Regions from separate parts of the Homo sapiens genome. Here region 1 is linked to region 2. Evidence: promoter capture Hi-C in 16 types of primary human blood cells and fetal thymus (Javierre and others, 2016). All regions are on one chromosome and are shown on one strand. The core of a region is centred on a gene start or on the middle of the fragment in contact, and the rest is flanking DNA. Distances in the headings are between cores, read along the strand shown. Region 1 has its middle 1.7 kb from the start of ZNF81. Region 2 holds the start of CDK16 (cyclin dependent kinase 16).

Region 1 (2,987 bases), core at 130-2,629, 620 kb after region 2:
AGGTTGCAGGCAGCCGAGATCGCACCACTGGACTCTAGCCTGGGCGACAGAGAAAGAATCCGTCTCAAAAAAAAAAGGAGGAGCGACCTCAGCTAGCATGCTCAGCCCCTTCACTGTGTGATACCCTGTGCTACCTTGGGACTCTGCAGAAAGTCCCTACCAGAAAGAAGGCCCTCACCAGTTATTGCCCTTCAACCTTGGACTTCTCAGCCTCCGTAACTGTAAGAAATAAATTCCTTTTCTTTAGAAATTACCCAGTTTCAGGTATTCTGTTGTAAGCAACAGAAAACAGACTAAGAAACATGCATATCCTAGGTTTCTTGTGCAAGTGTTTCTCTTGGTTACATTCATGAGAGTGGACTCACTGGATTGTTAAGGTATGTATATATTCACTGTAGGAGAAAATGCAAAAATATTTTCTAAAGTGGTTGCACTGATTTACATTCCTTCAACAGGGCAAAAAGATCCTGTTGGCCCACATACTCTCCAACTCTTGGTATTGTCAGACTTTTATGTTTTTGCAATTTGAATGGGTATAAAATGTCATTTTTATCATGTCTTGATTTGTATTTCCCTTATCACAAATGACTTTGAACATCTCTTTATATGTTTGCTGGCTCTATATCTCCTTCTTCTCTGAAGTGGTCTAACAGAACTTTCTTTTTTTTTTTTTTTTGGTACTATTATGACATCCAAGAACACTAACAGTGATTCTTGGCACTCTATTAGAAGTGTATGCATGCCAAATATGCTTCCACTGATTCCATTCTTCTTTCATTTATTCATTCAACAAACATTTGCCCAGACCAGGGATGCAGGGGCAGAATGACAAGCTGGGATAATCAAAGTTCAACTGCTATGGTTCAAATGTTTGTCTCCTCTGAAACTCATATTGAAATTGCCATTGTAACAGTATTAGGAGGTGGGGCCTTTAAAAAGTGAATAGGTCATGGAGGCTCCATTCTCATAAACTGATTAATGCTGTCACTGAGGGAATGGGTTAGTCACCTCAAGAGTGGGTTGTTATAAAGTGAGCCCAGTCCCTTGTGCTTTCTCTTTGTTCATACACTTGCTTGCCCTCTTGTCCTCTGCCATGGAATAATGCAGCAATAAGGCCCTCACCAGATGCTGGCACCAAGTTGGACTTCCCAATCTCCAGAACTATGAGCCAAATAAGCTTATTTTCTTTATAAATTACCCAATCTGTGATATTCTGTTACAGTAGCAGAAAATGGACAAAGATACCAACTCTCTAAAAAAATTAAAATGAAAATCGGACTATAAAAATCTGCCTTGCTATTCATCAGGATGGAAGAACAGACACATATAAAGCCAAATGCAAAATTCACAGGAAACATTATTTCTTCTAAGGACAGGCTGCAGTTGTAATGCCATAAAGAACCCCTACTTTAAGTGCCTATTGCTTTCTTGGTCAATGAGAAACTTTGTTCTCTACAATCATAGACTATCAGAAACTTTGCTGTTTGAAATGATATCAGTAAGAGGGAAACATCTGATTCTCATGGGAGATTCTAAGTCACTTCCAGACAGAGAAGCAAGATTCAATTTTCAACCCAGGTGCAAAGCTTTAGGCAAGAGTTATCTGGGGACACAAAATTCTACATCTAAATTGTTTCCAAGGAAACAGCACTCTGGGTTCACTTCACAGTCCAGACCTGACAATTACCCTTTACATACAGCCCTGCTTTCCTTTGAGCCCACTAAAACACTGCTTCATTTAATTTCATCTGAACTCCACTATTCCTCAAAATCCTATAAGAACTCTATCTTTTCCTTTGCTTAGTGAGCTGCCCATGGTGCCCCTGGTGTGCAGTCTCCCTTATTGATTGCTGGATCTGTCAGACTAAAAATTAGTTTGAGGCTAATTGGACTAGGACACCTCTAACCTTCGAGATTGTTAAACCGAGGGCCAGAGGGGATAAGACTGGATTGAGAGCCCCCAGCAAGTCCACACTTCAGCCTACACCAGGTCCTCTCAAAATATTTTTTTCACCTGAGGATTCAGAAAGGCTTTCAGGAGGGCACACAGGCTTCTAGCTCTGTCAGGATTCTCTGGAGGAGGAGATATTTGAACTTGATTTTGAAGGATGAATAGGCATTCTTAGGTGAAGGACTGCACGACTTCTTCCCCTTCTGCTCCAGTGACATCTCCCAGAGGGCAGGGGCATCTCCAGAATTTACACATTGGAGGTGATATGGAGCAGCAAACTGGTTGAAGGGTAGAAGCAGAGCCTTGTATTAAAGCTACATTTCCAAAGTAAGGGCACCATGACCACATATATTTTACTTCATGAGGAAATAAAAATAATAAAGTTTCCTAAAGATTTTTATTGACATATTGCATTGGACTAAGGACACATTAAAAATTATTAGTATTGGTACTACGTAGTCCCTTTTTAGCTGGGGTAGATGGAGTGGGAGATAAGGTAAATTGCTGCAGCATTCAAACCTCGCATCCAAGCCCCACAGGCACAGCAGGAGGGGAACCCAGCACTCTGAGTTCTCCCTTTTTCCCACCTCATGGCATATCCTAGGAGGGCTTGCATAACCATGATTTCTCCTCCTCCTCCTCCCCTTGTGGTATGTCCTAGGAGAAGCCTGTAACCAGCCTGACATCTCCCCGCTTCTCATCCTGTGGTATCTGCCAGGAGATAGCCGCGGCCGCCCCTGATTCTTTCCAAGAGGCCCTTCAGTTTCTCGGAGCGGTATCACACAGATCCATAGACTACAGGTCCAAAGACCCCCTCCTCCAGTTAGCCCGCCCAGAGAAACGTCCCCACCCGTGCTCCCTGCCACCAGCGGGACAGCTCCACCTGAGTTTAGAGCAGACAGCTCTAAACTCACAGCCTGCTCTGTGAGTTCAGAGGTGTCCTCATCCTCAATACGGATGGACACTCCTCCAACATGGTGTATCCCATGGGGAAGCGCGACGTGGGCGCGGCCATGTTCCCCACCTGACCACGCCG
Region 2 (3,078 bases), core at 507-3,006:
AAGATCCCTGTCCTCTTGGGGTTTTACGTTCTGCTAGGTTGACACCCAGAATAGATTATAAACACAGTAAGCAAATTGTACCTTAGAAGTTGATCAGTGCTCTTCAAAAGGCGAGGAATAGAGCCCGATCTGGGGATCTGGAATGATGGCAGTGCAGGTAGGAATTTTTAAATCGGAAAGGCTTCATGGAGATGACTTTGAAGCAAGCACCTGGAAGAAGTGAGAGAATGAGGCACGTGGATGTGGGCCAGCAGCATTCCAGGCAAAGGGAACCACAGCAAATGCAAAACCCCTGAGGCTGGATTGTGCCCGTTTCACTCAAACAGCTAGAAAGAGCGCTAGTATGGTGGCAGTGAGTCAGGGGAAGAAGAGGAAGAGATGAGGTCAGAGAAGTGATGAGCCTGTTCTATGCCAAGGCGAGGACTTTTATCTTTGTCAAATATTTCCACTCCCATCATGGCCCGGGAAATCTCACTAATGTAAACCTTACTGAAAATCCTAACTGCTGTGATCAAGGCTGCCATAAAGGGAAGCCCGGAAGAGGCGGGGAGGCTGCCTTGGAACAGGGTAGTGTAAGGATGTGCCAGAAGGCCTGCTGGAGGTTGCAGCCCTTTGAGCTGGACTTGGGGATAGTGTGGTTTTCCAGGCAGAAGGAAGTGAAGGATTAGGTCGGCCTGGTAGTACTTGGCACACAACATGCGCCCAATAAATAAAATGGAAATAAAACCGCGGAGTGTTCTACTTGTGTTGACTGACATCAAAACAAAACAAAAAACCCTCAGAGTGAGGGGAGGCACGGGAGGGGCTGTGCCGGGCAAGAGAGGTGGCAGGAAAATCCAACGCACGGCGCCTATGCAAATACTCGTGTGAGGCAGAAAAGAGGCTCCGCCCCGCTCGAAGTTCCAAGCATGCGCAGTAGCGGCTCCTGCGCCTCTAAGGATCCGCCTCTTTCCTTCTTTCTCAGCCTGGGTTCCACCCCGGGAGGCCCGCTGTATGAGATGGAGGGCGGGCTAAAGGCGGGACGAGACTCGATTGAGCGCAATTATGACCAATCACCTTGCGGAATATTCGGCCTATAGCGAAGGAGGAGCTCAGAACAAAAAGGAGACCCCACCCCCGCCGACGGTGAAAACCTATGAAACCTGGGCGGAGGCGTGCGGAGTCGGGTAGAGAGCGAAATCACGCCTCTTCAGTCAGCCACGCCCTTTATTCTTGCTCGGCCTCGCCACAGAGAGCAAATCAGATTGGCTGGGCGACAACCTCAAAGGGCGGGGCTGCACACGTTCACTACGGGAATGAGGTAGCGGTGGAGGGGGCAGTTGGGCGGGGATAGGCCGTCCTAGCTAAGGTGGTAAAGGCCAATAACTCTTCAGGCTGCCTCTCCTCGAAAAGTCATCTTCTCGCGAACCTTTAAAATGCCTTCCTCCCCAAGCACCTCAAGGGACTAGAACTGAGTGCTTCATTTGTCTTTTTTCCTCCTTGCAAAAGTCCCGTTTGCCACCATGGGGATGTACCAAGTGAGACCGAGTAGGGGGAACGAGTGGTGATTGACGCGCCAGGTTACTGGCCACTGCTCACCTAGGCGCTAGCAAACTTCTGCCAAGATCGGAACTGAGTACTAAACAGCCTCCACAGTTCTCCCTGGTGCCGTCTCCGGCTTGGCGCCGCATCCTCCTCTGGGCTCGCGATGGCCGCGTCCCCTCCCGCTGCGGACGGGTCCTTTGGTACATGCAGTCCGAGGTGAGTCCCCTCCTTTCCACTTCACCCTTCCGAGCGCCTGCGTGCGCATGCGCGGAGCGCGGCGCGCGCGGCGGTTGGGCCGTTGGCTGTTCGGCCCTGGGATCCGCCGCCACTCCGCGATCAGACCGCTCTGTGCCGCGAGCCGCCGTGAGCACTCGGATTCAAGCCGGCGCCAACGAGTCCGGGGGCATCGCCCGCAGCGGCCAAGCTCATGGCCGGCTGAGCGGGACGCCGCCTCCGCCTCAGCCACCGCCGCCGCCGCCGCCTCCTCCTCCTCAGCCGGCGGCGGCCCGGGCCCAGCAACCATGGCTGAAGACTACTGGGACGGGCGCCTGCGGCGAACAGGAGGAGAAGGAGGTCGCGCGGCCTCATCCCGGGCCGCCGCCCCAGGCGCCGCCGCGCCGGCCCCGCGGCTCTGAGGTTGCTCGCGCGCCCCCGCCGGTGAGCGCGTCCCCGAGGCGTGGAGGCTGCCCCTCCTCCTTCAGAACCCACCTCGGGCGGTGCCCAGGGGTCTGGGCTGCGGGGCTGGCAGGTGCCCCCACCCCCGGCGAATTTCCCAGAATGCACCGGGGCGGGGGGTCATTTGGGGCCTCCCTGACCTTGGCCCCGCCCTGGGCCTGTCCTGGGAGCTGGGGTTGGGTAGTGCTGTGGGTGCTAATGGGGACCTGGGGGAGTCAAAGGACCAAAGGGTGTGGAAATGGGTGACAATGGGGTGAAAGACTTGGGGGGGTTGCTGATGGGGGTCGGAGCATGTGGCAGTAAGCCTCACGCCAATAAGTCGTGTAAGGTTCAAGGCCCCGTGTGTGCTTGTGGAAGGAGGGCGGGGTGCGGAGCGGGTGAGGGACCCGAGGGTGTATAACGGGGGGTAGGGTGTCGAGGAAGTTCTAAGACATGCTCATAGGGATTATGTCCGCAGAGAGGCCCGGTGTGTGTTCATGGGGGACAGGGTGGCACAGGTACCAGAACGTGTGTTGGTGGGGTCAGGGCTCTGAGGCCTGGTGCGTGGCGATGAGGCCCTGGATGGTGTTAATACTGCGTGTCTGTCCGTGGGGCCTGCAGTGTGTGAGAATGCAGTGTGTGCTTGTGGAGGGCAGGTAGCTGAAGGACTCGAGTGTGGTGTGTGCGCCAGTGGGGGTCATGGCTGTAGAGGGTGTATGCCTGTGGCCTCGAAGGTCTAGGTAGTTTGGGACCCAGTATATGCTAATGAGGGCAGAGTGGAGGAAGGACCTGAGGGTATCTAACGGAGGAAGGACTGTGGAATACCTGAGCCTGGCCTAAAGGAGATGAGAATTGCGTGTCTGTCTGGGCCCAGGAAGGAGTGGTGGGGAAGTGTCTTAG

Evidence for each region. Contacts are between HindIII fragments. The CHiCAGO score rates a contact against its expected background, and 5 or more counts as called.
Region 1: a contact is called between a fragment that was not itself captured here and the fragment with the promoter of CDK16 in region 2, in 1 of 17 cell types (fetal thymus). The highest score is 7.5, in fetal thymus.

What each region holds. Positions count from the first base shown.
Region 1 is chrX:47,833,748-47,836,734 of GRCh38, forward strand. No RefSeq gene overlaps it. Among named protein-coding and RNA genes, the nearest start is that of ZNF81, 1.7 kb to the right of the region's middle. RefSeq lists an enhancer at 2,903-2,987. The HindIII fragment of the contact is 409 bases long and covers 1,176-1,584 here.
Region 2 is chrX:47,216,925-47,220,002 of GRCh38, forward strand. It overlaps CDK16 (cyclin dependent kinase 16), which reads left to right and starts at 1,757. Exons shown (of 16, transcript NM_006201.5): 1 at 1,757-2,181. LOC105373194 (a long non-coding RNA gene) reads right to left here and starts at 1,726. Exons shown (of 3, transcript XR_949047.4): 1 at 1,579-1,726; 2 at 82-210. RefSeq lists silencers at 1,091-1,200, 1,901-2,060, 2,081-2,190, 2,201-2,270 and enhancers at 1,391-1,510, 1,631-1,700, 1,844-2,483. The HindIII fragment of the contact is 18,663 bases long and covers 1-3,078 here.